Regions from separate parts of the Homo sapiens genome. Here region 1 is linked to region 2. Evidence: promoter capture Hi-C in human tissues and cell types (Jung and others, 2019). All regions are on one chromosome and are shown on one strand. The core of a region is centred on a gene start or on the middle of the fragment in contact, and the rest is flanking DNA. Distances in the headings are between cores, read along the strand shown. Region 1 overlaps LOC124901975 (a long non-coding RNA gene). Region 2 holds the start of NECAB1 (N-terminal EF-hand calcium binding protein 1).

Region 1 (6,703 bases), core at 3,019-5,518, 260 kb before region 2:
AGGGATTTAGGAGTATTGTTGATGGACAGAAAGTGGAAGTAATTAAGGAGCAAGAGGAAGTTGGGGAGGACAGCCAACTTTGAGACTTTGAGTAGCCAAAGACAGTATTGAAGATTCTGGGATATTTTGGAAGCAGATTGAGGGCTTGAGGAAAATAAGATCTGTGCTTATATAGAATATCCTTTACCTATACACTAATATCATCAAATACCCTTTTCCAGATATACCTAACTTGGTTATCCCTTTGGAATAGTGAGAGCTCTTTCCCAAATTAGTGACTGGTGCTTCAGTTTGAGTGCAGAATTCTCTAATTTCCAAGTAACAGCAGCAACAACAATAACAGCAATGACACCAATAATAGTAACTATCATTCATTGAGAAGGCATCACGACAGAGTGTTAAGATCATAGATGTTAGCCAGATTGCCTCGCTTTGTCACTGTTGCCCTGGGCAAGGTTCTGAACATTTTCTGCCTCAATTTCCTAATCTGTGAAGTAGCACCTCTTCATAGGATCATAATGAGGATTCAGTGTGTATGTAAAGTACATAGTGTTCTGTCTGGCATACTGTAAGTACTCAGTAAATGTTAGCCATTCCTGTTGAGTGTTAATCAGATCCTAGATCCTATACTAAGTCCTTTTCCAACATTAATATGATCCACAGGGTGAGCCTATTACATTATTTTAGATGGAGACAATTAAATTCAAAGAGCCTGGGTTATTGATCAACATTACACAAACAGAGATGGAGGAAAGATTCCAGCCCAACTCTGACTGATGCAGAGTCCAAGATCTGAGCAAGTATGCTCTCCTGCAGTGTTGTGTGAGGTGCTGATAATGACATAGAGAAATCACCAAGTTCCCCATATGTTAAGTAAGAAGTATTAGGTTGGTGCGAAAGTAATTGTGGTTTTTGCCATTAAAAGCAATGGCAAATTACTATAGAATAACTCTGTGCTACTGGATCTATTATATTCCCCCACTGCCTTGAGGTGGGGTTCACAGGGTAATGCTAGGTAGCTTCAGCCAGTTTCTTCTGGAAAACAAATTGATCCCTTACTTACTCTTTGCTTACCGACTTAACCCAAAATTCTCTGAAAAAAAATAGAAATTTCTTTCTCTGTGTCTAGAATATTTATGCCATAACCACTACATATATTTGGCTATACTTCAGATAAAGATACAGATTCGTGCACTGCAATTTTTCTTGATGAGTGGAAACAAAATATTTTCCTCCCAATATTTAAATGTATCAAAACATAGGATCCAGGTAGATACAACCCAGCCAGTTTCTTCCCTGCAGCCTTCAACTTTTAGCACAAATGCCAAAGAGCAAGCTAGAAAATTAGAGAAAATCCAATTCACCCTACAGAAATTGGTTCTGGAAAGAGATGACCAATAATCAGATGGTGCTTAACTACCAAGCATTTTGTACAACTAAGAAGTGGATAAGCTGCTTTCTCTCAAAAAATCCGGGTCTGAAGCAAAATATCCAATATTTATAATGCCCACATGCAGTAGCTACTTCAGAGCTATCACCTGAATGAAAGCTAGAAATTCTGATTCTTCACCTAGAAATGATTGCTACAGGCAAAACACTAGGAAATGGGAAATGGATATTTCACTGTGGACAACTTTAGACTGTGTACTCAGTTAACTGTGTATCTCCCTCTGGAAGCTTCCTTCAATCCCCAGGTCTGGCCTCAACAGCCACATTTATACCCTGTGACCCTATGTCTCTGGAAATGGTAGTTTGATCCAACAGTGGACCAATAAAACTGGGTCAATCAGAGCCATACACGTAGGAACTGGTCTACAAATGCAACTGGACCATTGACATGCAAATACAGGAATTGTGGGATGGCCAGATGTGGTTAGGGGGCATCTTCTATTTCTATTTCCTGGAACTTGGTTTCTATTCCTTGAAACAAAGAAGGCTGGCTCTTAGACAGATGGGTGATGAAAGCAGTGATTGAAGGTTAGAGAAGAGACACAAGGAGATCAAGCTACCTCTTGGGGACCTCTTTCCAGCAGAATGCCCATTCATGGACCAAACAGGAAAAATGCAAGACAGATCCATTGATGGACCTGTTAAGAGTTAAAGTATAAAAGCCAGTCATTAAATCCATTGATCATGCCCTGTAACTTACATATATGTTAAATGTATTCTTTGGTATATATCAAATATTTGTTAGTTTATTTAAAAAATTAAAAATTAAATATTCCACTTCTTCTAGTAAATAGTCTTTTTTGCTCTTACAAACGTGACCCACTATTTAAAATGATATTCTTGAGGTATGAGCTGTGTAGTATATATATGGGCTTTAGAAACTGAATCTTATTTTATATGCACAGGAAATACTTCATTGAATGAATCCAGGCATAAAAAATTTAGCCCAATTACCACAATTCAGTATTGTTAAGCTATCAAAGCAAGTCATGTAATTTTCATCAGTTTTATGCATATTCAAGAATATACAATAACAGTAGGAAATACCCATTTCTACAGTGAACTAATTAGAGAGAAAAATTCTGTTTGAATTCATCAACTGGGAATTTTTTTTAGATTAATTATTGATGAATTGTTCATCAGGTGCACATAAGACCACAGTGATAAGATTTATCTTAAATTTCAAAAGTGCTTTATTTACAGTAGCTCTAAATGATGAATCATATTACAAGTAAGATTCTGTTGGGGATAGTTTTTTCTTAACTATACTCGAAATATTGATCCATAGTAAACTTGGTGACATTATTTATCCCTCATGAATTTGTTCAGAAAATTATACAGCACTTACTAGTTATCCAAGCAAAGAAAAATATAGAATAAAACCTCCTGAGAAAACACTGGAGGAAGGGAGATGGAAAGAGGTAAATTAATTAAAGAATCTATTTCAATTCTTCATTTTATGTTGAGTATTAATGTAGATATAACTCAATATTAAGTACCATTCTTATGTATATCTGAAGTTTATAGCTAGGTATATTTCATTATTTTATAAGCAGTATGTATCACTATTTTAAATTTATTGCAACAAACAGCAATTCCTTCTTTACTTATTGTTTTCTTTTTTCTTCTTTTCAATTTCTCCAAATTTCCTTTACTCATAAGTTTAGAAAGTAGATAAGGCATTGAAGATATTTACAGGAAAATTGTGTCCACCCCTACTTCAGATTATAATATACTTGAGAAAACAACTGGGTCCCTTGAAGGACTGAATAAGCACTAGGGATGGAATGAACTCATTAGAAGTCAGAGACAGCCTACAAGATTACAGCCACAGGGTCCCAGGCTGGGAACCTTGGATAACTTCAGCTAACATGAAACTAACTTTCTATTCCCTGGAAGTTGCTGAAAGCTTAGATGTTTTGTACGTTGTTTTGGCTTTTTCAAAAGAGTAGTTGAGCTTACAAACCTTAAATAATGCCACGAAGTGTGAATCTTCAAATGCTAGAAATGATGAAATACAGTCATGTGTCACTTAATAACTGGTACACATTCTGAGAAATGCATCCTGAGGCGATTTCATTGGTATATAAATATCATACAGTGCACTTACACAAACCTAGATGGTGCAGCCTACAATACACTGAGACTATACAGTTATAGCCCATGATTTCTAGGCAACAAATTCATGCAGCATGTTACTCTATTGAATACCATAAGGCAGTGGCAACACAATGAAAGTATTTGTGTAACTAAACATGTGTAAGCAGAAAAGGGACAATAAAAATGCAGTGTTATAATCTTACAGGACTGCCGTCATGTATGCAGTCTGCCATTAATGGAAATGTCATTATGTGGAACACAACTGTAAAAACAAACCATCTGAAAAATGTTGAGTGAATTCCAATGGAATCGCTCATAGCCTGCTCCCACATGTATTACATCAAATTGTTTTAGGTATTTACCTTAAAACTATTGAAGATCTGTTAGAACATGGAGAATTTGTTTGCTATTATATCATTTCCTTTTCTTCTCTTCTTCGGTATGTATTAGAGTGACAGAAAAGAAGTATAATCATCGAGAAAACTTGGAACATGCATGAACTATTGTTTTGACCATTTTACCATGGGTGAGGTATGGTGGCTATGGTGAGGCCAGATGCAGGTCAAGAGAGAAAAAGCACGGTTTTTATAGTTTTGTTATACTCACAGTTTCCTAGGGAGAACACTATACAGGGCCACTCAGGGGTTGGTCAAGAAGCAGAGGCAGGAAGAACAACTTTTAATTGTGGTTTCTGCAGGAAGAAACAGACAAGGCATGGTAAACAGGTTTAGAATTGGCTACTTTGAATACTATCAGCAGGTTCTGGGGCACAGGGGCTGTCCCTGGTTATCTGGTACCTGGCCCTGGGGTGATTGGAGCTCATTGATAGTGACCCAAATTAGAAAAGACCAAGAAGGGAGGTGGTTGGAGTTTTGGATTTAATCAGCTTCTCTAGAAGAAAAACTGACTAGCCTCAAGCCAGGATCTCCAAACTGAGTTAGGACAGTGCTTATAAAAACCGTACTGCACCTATACAACACATACACATAGAAGTAAATAGAAAAGCCTCAGGCTGCTACAATCAGAGAAGATGTCTCTTAAGAAAGACCGTGAGGCTGTTATTCCACCAATGTCAGAGTAAATGCAGGCAGGTTTTAATGTACAAGTTCCTTATGGATCAAATAGAGGGTGTAATGTTATTCTCCTGAAACATTGCTGCAAATTGGTAGAGATACAAAGGGCGAAAAAGGGGTTATCAACCAGAATTTCCAAAAATACAATTTTGTACAGTATATAAGCAAAAGCAAGTGCTTTTAGTGATTCACTTCACAAGCAATTTCTTTAAAATCTAACCATTGAGCAACTGCAGGAAGAGAAACTGAGGAATCCTCTACAAGAGATATTTAGAAATTTAATCCATAGAAACAAGCATTGCAGCACGGACTGGCATGGGAGAAGGTCAGTGAGACAGAGGGAAAAAAGTGGATCAATGAACAAAGACAGCTGAAGACCCAGTTACAGACCCAATTACTAAAACCACCCCATAGTCCCACCTGCTGAGGGGTTTTACCACTCCCATAGGAGGACGTCAGGAAGTTTATGACAGAATTCCACTAAATTCATTTGCAATCCCTTGCTTAGATCTTCATTTTGTTGTTGTTTCCTGCATAGCAACTTCATACAATTCTTATCCCAGAGGGTGGTTTGATTATTCTTGACTTTTTATTTTGTTGTAATCATAAGTAATTTTTATTTTGTTAAAGATAAAAGTCTACTCAGAATTTCAGTACCCAGAATAAGCAGACCAACTGACATGCAATCCCTTAAATTAAGGAAACTGACTTTCGTAGTCAGGGCATTCCTCCTGTTTCCCATGGATCACTCATAGACCCAATGCTCAGTTGTTAGGAATGTACATGGTACCAGTAACTGTGAGAAATACTTGTGTGAAAGTAAGATGCAATAGATTCATTCTGCCTTATACTGTTTTCATTACTCTTAACAAAATCTTAAGCTGCTCCAGAATGATCTTCAATTCATCAAGGTCAAAGATAACTTACTTTTTTCAGGCCCTTGGCCATAGGATCGAGGTAATGACACCCAATCCCAAGGGCAGCATGTCTGAAAATGTAGAAAAGCTGATGTAGCTGGTCCCCAACCCAGACCAATTCAGAATACCTGTGGATAAGCATGGGGCTCTGCCTTATAACAAGCTCATCTGGCGACATATTGCATTTGCAAAGAGAGCTCCTGCCCTCCAGCCTGAAGAAATGTTATGGCTCTTTTTGTTGTTTCTGAGCTGTCCCCTCCCAACACAGACTCAGGCTTTTTAGTATAAAAGGAAAAGGAAAAGGAAAGAAAGGAGGGGTTCAACTCTGTCACTACCCATTAGTGGCAAGTGTAACAAGAGTTAAGACTTCGCAGTAATTTACTCAATGACACAGAACATGGTAGCCTGATGGGTAAAAACTTTTACCAAAATATACTCCTGAAATAAGGATCTGTCCAATATGCATTTGTTTCAAAGAGTCTCATGCCTGAACGTTTCTTTTAGATTTGAGTCTTCTTTATCCAGATGGTATTTGATTGACTTGAAGTTCTTCTCATCTTTCACTGTGTCACTTTTTCTGGAGGATCACTCACTTACACATATTAAGTGTGTTCTTTATTCCATCAACATAATAGTTTTCTTTTCTCAAATTTGATGTGATATAACAGAAAATGAACTGGGCTAAGGAGACCCAGAATCTAGGCTTGCTTCTGTTCTTGAGTGCCTATGTCCAGTTAATTGAGTGAATTAACCTCAATTCTTTCTACTACTCAGTTTTCCCATACACAAAATAGGGGAATTGGACTTGAAGTACCTTACAACTCTGAGATTTAGCAAGTGAGTAAATGTCTAGTAGTCCTTAGAAAGTACAACACTGACTTCCTGAACTTTCCCTTCTGGGTGAGGAAAATTTGGGCATAAATTCAAAAAATGTGTTTTATGTCCCGATGGATGATTAAATCAACCCTGCCTGCATTTCTAGGATGACTCAGTTCCGCCTTACCTCCAGTACTGTTTTGTTCTCATGTGCTCCAAAGAAGTCAGTAAACCCAGAATATCAGGTCTCATAAGCCAAAGACAACCTATAAATGAAGGCCAGAATTATCCCCTCTCTACTCTTGCAGCCAATCCAGGTGAAACCAGAGATTTTGTGTCTGATAGCCC
Region 2 (7,700 bases), core at 1,594-4,093:
TTGATGTTAATGGTTGACAGCCCCCCTCCTTCTCGTGGTTTTTCTCCTTCAGTGATTTGAATGACCTGTGTCTATCTGATGGGTTGACCAGTATGTTTTTTTTTTAAATGATTTTGTATCTATTTTGATGAACAGTTGTCAAAGAGAAGGGTCTATTCTCACTGTTCAGGTAAGGAAATTTGCAGTTAATTAGGAAAATGCACATAAAGATGTCAGATGAATATTCCTAAAGCACAGCTCCAATCAATATCTCACCCCTGATTAAGTTTAATGTCTCTAACTCTCTACCTAATTAAGTCCAGAGTTCTATCCCCGGGCTTCACAGATTTTCATCCTATAGCCTCTGCCTATTTTCTGAGATTTTATTCTACTTTTTTCCTGTACTGTATGTACAGCACAGTTAAGTTTGGTGATTCTTAATCCTTGCTGCACATCAGAATCACATGGAAATCTTCAAACAAACAAACATTAATCCACTGGGCCCACCGCATACTAATTGAAAGTGAATTTGAGGATGAAGCACAGGCATCAGTTTGGTTTGTGTGTGTGTGTGTTTGTGCAGGGAGGGTTAGCTCCTTATTTTGGTTATCTATTGTTACAAATCCAACCACCTCAACACTTATTTGTATGAAACGGTATACATTTTATTATGTTCCCAATTCTGTGGTCCAACTGTTCTGACACAGCACAGCACTGGTAGTGTGCCTTTACTCCATGATGCCTGGGGTTTTGGCTGGGACAACTCACATGGCTAGGGATGTCTGCAAGAGCTGGGAGCTGGAGTCATTTGCAGGCTTCCTCATTGACATTTCTGCTGCTGAGGCTGGGATAATGCAAAGGCTCTGCTTAGCTATACCTGTAAGCCAGGTGTCTACACTTGCCTTTCCATATACCTTGGGCTTCCTCAAAGCATGGTGGCTTAAGGTAGAAAAACTTCCTATACGGAAGTTCAAGAATCCAGGAGCAAATCCACTGTAAAAAGTGGAATTGCAAAGGCTTTTATGCCCCTACCCTCGGAAAGCACATAGCAACACTTCTGTTCCATTTCATTCATTGTAGCAGTCACAATCTTTCAGATTTAAGGGGAGGGGACCCACTTCTCTATAGGAAGAATGTCAATGAATTTGTGGGCACATTTTAAAGTTACCACACACCCCAGGTGATTCCAATGTACAGGCAGCGTTGAGAACAACTGGATTCATTTTTTTTTTTTGTAAGCACCCATCTACAAAGGAGCAGTGGGACTTGGGTGAAGTGAACAAGACACCTAGGGTGCAAAATTTAAGAAAATCATTCTCAGGATCATGCAAGCACAGGATAGAGATTGAGAGCAAGTGCCTCCTTACATTCTGTGCTCAAGTGGCCCCACTTGCCACACCCTAGTCCTGAGCCTACTACATAGCAACTGTGTATGAATCATTAGGGTGAGGGGGACTTGGATTTCTGGACTAGACAGTACTTTAGTATTGGGATTTGGAAAGCCCAGGTAGGATCTGGGATTCTGTATGTTTATAGGAATCCCCAGTGGACTACTTCCAGCTTCCACGTGCTTTCCTGGTGCCATGCTTTGCTTACGCTGTTCCTTCTGCCTGGAAGTGTTTTCCTTCTATTTCTATCAAGCATGGAGTATCCACTGATTTTTAAGGTCCATTTCATATACCGCTTCTTTCATCAAGCTTTTATTGGTCCCCCCAGCCAGAGTGTAACCTGTCTCTCCTGAGAAACCCCTAGCATGTTTTACATGCCTTTAAGACACTCACATGTTGATCAGCATTTTGGTTGTGTGTGGGCCTGTCTTATAGGAAGAATATGTTTACTTTTCTCCAAAGGCCACAAAATGGAGATCTGGATCCTCCTCACCCGTTCTCACTGGTAGAGGCAGAGTCTTGTTTAGACAAGGTTCCCTCTTTTTTGCCTTATCTCGCTCCCAGATAGCTCAAGTTTGTAACCAACACATACACATTTTAGATGCCCAATAAACTGGATCTCTCTCCTGATGAAAGGTGTGGTCAGTTTCCTATTTTTACAGCCTTCGCAGAAGCCGTCAAATATTGAATAATTACCCTGGTTTAAATGCTTAAACACAGATAAGGACTTCGTCTTGTGACTTTGGGAAACTTCATATTTGAACATTACCTAACAATCCTTGCCCCATAGCAAACGTTTCGAAGCCTACTCTAGGCAGAGTTCATAGCACCGCCTTTGTCAGCAGCACTGCCATAGGTAAGCCTCAGAACCCTCTGGGGTGAGACCGGTGTAACCATTTTACTGATGAGGAAAAGTGAGGCTTACAGGTTAAGTCCTTCGAGCGCAAGATAACACCGAATGGCTTAATCCCTACACCAAACCAGCTGCTCCTCGATTGCTGGTATTCGTGAACCCTGCCCCCGCCTTTGGGGAAGGTCGGGCAGACAGGCCACTGGGACCAAAAGCAGAGTAGGTAGAACCTCTCTGAGTTCCTCCCTATTTATGGCATCCACTCAGGTGAGGCTGGGGGCGTCCTTACCTTGCGCTTTGGCTGCTCAGGACAAACGCCCTGCCATTCGTCCCTTCTCTCTGTCCGGACGCCCTCCTCCATCCCTGCACTTGGGGCCGTCGTGGGGCTGGTAGGGGTCCCCAGGCTATCTCCAGCCGTGGCCGATGGCCGTGCCGGGGGCAGAGCCCGCTCCCCTCCGCGCGTTGCTACGTGCGGGGATGACATGGATCCAGACGCCGTCAACTACGGGAAGGAGGAGGCGAGAGTTGGAGCGCGTGGGAGCGCAGAGGCCGGAGGAGGGAGGGGGGGACACCGAGCGCGGAGAGCGCGGAGAGCGCGGAGGGAGGCGCGCGCGGGAGCGAACACCCTCCCGGATCCAGAGCCCGGCGGCGGCGAAGCAGCAGCTGCGGCCGCGCCCTTGCCAGAGCCGGTGCGTCCGCCTAGCCCCGCTCCGCCTGAGGCCGTCAGGGCTCCCGAGGATGGAAGATTCCCAGGAGACATCGCCGTCCTCCAACAACTCCTCGGAGGAGCTCAGCTCTGCTCTGCACCTGTCCAAGGGCATGTCGATCTTCCTCGACGTAAGTACAGATGGTGGGAGCTGGGCGGTTGCTTCCCAGCACCTTTCTTTTCCCCGAAAGGAAGGGGTTCGGCTCAGGTGCTGACCAGCCAATGCTTTGTCCCCAGAACACAGGCGAGAACTACCGATGCAAATGCAGGAGGAACGACTGTCCCTTAACTTGCAGCTAGGGCTGTCCCAGACCTGCAGCTTGTGGCTTAACACCCTTAAGAAAACTGCAAAAGTTAGATTTTCCAACAGGCTGGGTTTCGTAGAGACACTATTGCAAATACAACAGACAACATTTGAGTGCATAGGACATTTTAAAGAGGCACAAGGTGTGGGGGGTGAGGTGGGGACAGTGTCCCAACTCATCTCTCTAACGCGCCCTATTCGCAGCCTTCACACTCGTGGATGCTCTCAAGCAACCCAGCCAGGGAAGCAGCAGCGATTGAGATGCCCTCGTTATCCTCCCCCAGACCCCCTCGGAAAACAATTACTTTGAGCATATTTGTTTTTCTTTTTACAGCGGTGGGAAATATCATTTTCATAATGATTCTTTTTGTCACTGCCACCTCTTCTATTTTCCCTTTTTCTTCCCTGATATTCTCCTTCTCTCCAAGTTCTAATTACTACTGTCACCTCCATGAATTCTAGCTTTTGACTATTTTCCCTTTGGTCCAATTTCTCACTTCGGTATCGACTGCCTGCCTTCATTACTCTGATCTGATTACATCCTTTCTTTTCCTTCTGTGCTGTTTCTTTTTCCCGTATGGTGTGGTTTCTATCTTTACAGCACTTTTATTTCTTATTTATTTCTCAATTTTGTTTTCCTCTCCTGCCTGCTGTTTCTGTTTTCTCTATTTTTCCGTCTGTTGCCTATCTCTTCTCTCTGCTTTGGGGTTTCTCTCAGCTGCTTGCCGGGCTCCAGGCTCTCCCAGCCCCTCAGTTGTCACATTCATGCTGTTGCCGGAGGTCGTGTCTATCTCAGTGGGGACAATTCTGTCTGCTTCTTGTTTAGGCATGATAGAAAATGTCAAAGGACATGGAGGAGTGCTACGTGCTCTGTCCTTTACCCTTCTCTGAGTTATCTTTTCTTATTAAAGTCAAAATGAGTGGGAGATGGGCCAGAAGCCAGATACATTTGTTTGTGGAGAGATGAAAATATGAGGAAATCAATTAGTATCATAATGGTGAGGCAGAGATAAAGAGGATAGGAGGATGTGAGGCGCTCTCCCAAGTTTATTTTGAATGGATTGGCTAGAATTCTTTTTAATTCTAGGGAAAGAAACTCCTATCAATAATTCAAACTGTTGTAAGGCAAATGATAGAAGTGAGGTTCAACTGTGTGTACTGGCAGCCTTCACCCTTTATCACCTGGTGGCTCCAATTGGTGATCCAGGCATTCTGGGCTGGTCATCTCCTTCCCACCAAATCTCAGGTGTGGTCATTCCTATTCAGCCACCCAATCAGGTGGTTAAGTACCTTATCCTTCATGAGCATTTATCTCTGCCTGGCTTGGGTCAGTCAGATGGTATTATTGGTGCTCATGGCTTAACGGGCTGATCTTATTCAAGTTTTGCTGTTCAGGGCCATAAAGCACTTGAGGAGGTAAGCTGAGAAAAGAGAAGGGCACCACAACATGCCTGAAAAGTCAGGGCCCCTGGAAATCATGTCAGTTATGAGGCTGACAATTAAGGGGCCATGGAGTTGATTCAAAGGGGACAAGTGGGGCCTCCATTCATTCTGACCTGATCTTCACTCTGTCCCCCATTGAGATCAAGTGCTTCCCTGTGCTTTTTAAAAAGCACTTAACAAACCCCGGTGATAGTGTGGAGATGAATGGATTAAAACTACACAAATGGAAAGTCATCCTCCTGACTCATACACCAGCCATTGCTTAAGTGTTCAACTGCAATGTTTTCGAAGAGAAAATTAAAATTTCATTTTTTATTATGTATGCATGATTGTTTCCAAGTCTGTAAACAAATAGCATCAGGTCCCTGTACTAAAGGAACTTGTAGTCTGTGAATAGGGTGGTCTTGCCTTTTATATTTCAGAGATTTAAAAATAAAAATAGGAAACTGATTCCCTATGAGAGGTGTTGACATGCTTGTTTGTCGGTAAAATGCTAGAGTCTACAAAAAAAACCTGCCATTGGATTTTGTGTCAAATGGAAAAGATTTTGTTTACACTTTTCTTTGAGTTATTTTGTGAAAAATCTAACACTGGTGAAATATGTGATATGAAAAATGATTTGTTACTTAGGGATTTGTGAATTATTCATTTCTGGATCATACCACTTTTAGCAAAATAAAATATAAAATATACATGCATCACTTTATTTATTTGATTTAATATATTCTATGGCACTAGCAAGAAAGATTACTTTTAAAATTATCTTCATATTATAATACATAGGTGATAGATATTACCTGTTCCAAACTGGAACAGGTAATTTTCTGTGTGTCTTCTGTATCAAACAGACAATTTCCAAATTTGAGGAAAACTTTGATTTGCAGTGCTTTTTATTGCAATGTCACTGGAATAATCAATCATTTAAGAAATGATGTAAACTGCTACTGAGAACACTATTAATGACATGATACATGACCAGCTGGTTGGAAACTAGAGACAGATTTTAACAAGAAAATCAGAGATAGATTTGCCACAACTGTTGGCTTTTCCTTCAGTATCCTCTCCAAATCAGCAATAGTAATCACTATGATACTTCCTTAGGCTGTTGTGAGTATGAAATAAGGGAAAATGGAAACAAAGCAAAAAGTATTGCATAAATTTGAAGTATTATGGTTATTTCAGTGCTGCACACTGAGTGTATTAAATAACAGTAACAGTAGCTAAATCCACAAACTGATGCAGGGACTATTTCTTCATGAATCTAATTTATAGAATTGTCTTGCTAGAATATGACAGAATTAAGTATCGGTTCATCATAAATACTCTTGAATACTGATGGGAGGCTTAGAAAACCTAGCACTGGTGCCAAGGTATGCCAGTGCATTGAGGCTGGAGCAAGCATTTGCATATGGCATGCCTGCCAGCCACAGGAGAGGGACTCAACTGGGTCCTGGCAACACATAGGACCACAGGGATTACTATTGCTTTTCCTTTTACACCAATGGACTATCATTTCCCCAGTTGCTGCAATCCAGTTAACAGAAGAGGAACTCTAGTTTGGAATACTAGTCTATGTAGCATGTGTCTCCTCTTTTGAGTCATTACATTAATCAACTCCGCTACTGTGAAAAGGGAGAAAAACAAACCTTCAACTCATCCCCAAAAGCAAGAGAAATTCCCAAACGAAATTAGTAGCAACTTCATCCACCCAATGCCACTTTCCTTTCCCATCAGTTTTCCTTTGATTTTTAACTGGAAGGGAAGTGACTGTTCCCCACTTCACTGCTAAAGAGGGAAAGAGGCTGGAAAGTTGTGAGGGGGATGAATGACTTTACTGCTTGTCTTCCCTTCCTTCCTTCGTCTAAGCATGCACACTCATGTACACTCTGAATGCAAGATACAGAGCATAGATGGTCAGGAACTTGGTGAAAACAAGAAATAGTTTCTTTTCACAAGGACACTTAATTCTGAAGCCCCATATATGCTCATTTGTATGATGTGTGAGATGCACAGAGGAATGTCGAAGCCGAATGAGTCTTCCAGATGCAATGGTTCTGTGACTGAACTCTGTTATAGCCACACACCTCCCATCTCACCTCATCTCTCTCACACACACACACACACACACACACACACACACTTGCTCATTTGAGTGAGATTGTCCAGTTCAGAGGATGGCAGTTAACCCCATCATTGTCTACCCTCATTGGCAAGGCAAATGTCACTCTTGTAGTTATAGGAAACAGCAGAAATTAGGAAAAAAAAATTTAATGCATGCTGGGCTTAATACCTAGGTGATGGATTGATAGGTGCAGCAAACCACCATAGCACACGTTTACCTATGTAACAACCCTGCACATCCTGTACATGTACCCCGGAACTTAAAAAATTTTTAAAAAAGTATTTAAAAATACACTTAGTCTTACTGTTATCATACATTAAAAATTGTTTTCCCACACTGGGCCTACCCTAGGCAAAATTGAGAAGATGAAAATATGTGCACTGATTCCTTCTCTCCATCCATCTTTCAGTGCCTGCTTCCCCTTATCCAGTTTCAGGGCAACCAGTGGCCTGGTAGTAAAACTACCTGCTGGAAGTCTGGGCCCACCCACCCTGGTAATGGGAGAGACTCCCATCTGACCCCAGGCAGTCTAATGATTGCGACACCTGGGCAACACCAGGCATTCTAATGGGAGAGACTCCTGCCGACCCTGTGTGGTGGGACTCCATGTTCTGGATTAGTCCTGAGTCCCTGTCTTATATTCTAGTTTCTCAGGAATCTACCAAGGGACTATTTCACCTCATTATCAAATCTTAACCTGATTCATGGTAGGAGGCACTTAGAAATATTAGTTCAGTAAATTATGATTGTGTCCATCTTTTAATGTTTCAAAGATAACATTTACATTTTAACACCTGCCTTCAATAACTTAAAGTGATGAATAAGGAATTTTAGTTGAGGCCATCAAAGAATATTTTTGAAATAAAGGAATCTATTTGATAATCTTTGAATTGTAGCGAAAACACAGT

Evidence for each region. The method cuts DNA at HindIII sites, captures the fragments that hold promoters and counts their contacts. A contact is called where the count stands out against the background at its distance.
Region 1: a contact is called between a fragment that was not itself captured here and the fragment with the promoter of NECAB1 in region 2, in 4 of the 25 tissues and cell types used here (H1 embryonic stem cells, heart right ventricle, spleen and 1 more).

The regions. Positions count from the first base shown.
Region 1 is chr8:90,530,387-90,537,089 of GRCh38, forward strand. LOC124901975 (a long non-coding RNA gene) reads right to left here. Exons shown (of 8, transcript XR_007061002.1): 3 at 4,156-4,240. Among named protein-coding and RNA genes, the nearest start is that of LINC01030, 72 kb to the right of the region's middle. RefSeq lists a silencer at 6,355-6,649 and an enhancer at 6,355-6,649. The HindIII fragment of the contact is 7,720 bases long and covers 409-6,703 here.
Region 2 is chr8:90,788,932-90,796,631 of GRCh38, forward strand. It overlaps NECAB1 (N-terminal EF-hand calcium binding protein 1), which reads left to right and starts at 2,844. Exons shown (of 13, transcript NM_022351.5): 1 at 2,844-3,054. The coding sequence starts at 2,956. LOC105375633 (a long non-coding RNA gene) reads right to left here and starts at 3,237. Exons shown (of 4, transcript XR_928389.4): 1 at 2,507-3,237. The HindIII fragment of the contact is 16,269 bases long and covers 1-7,700 here.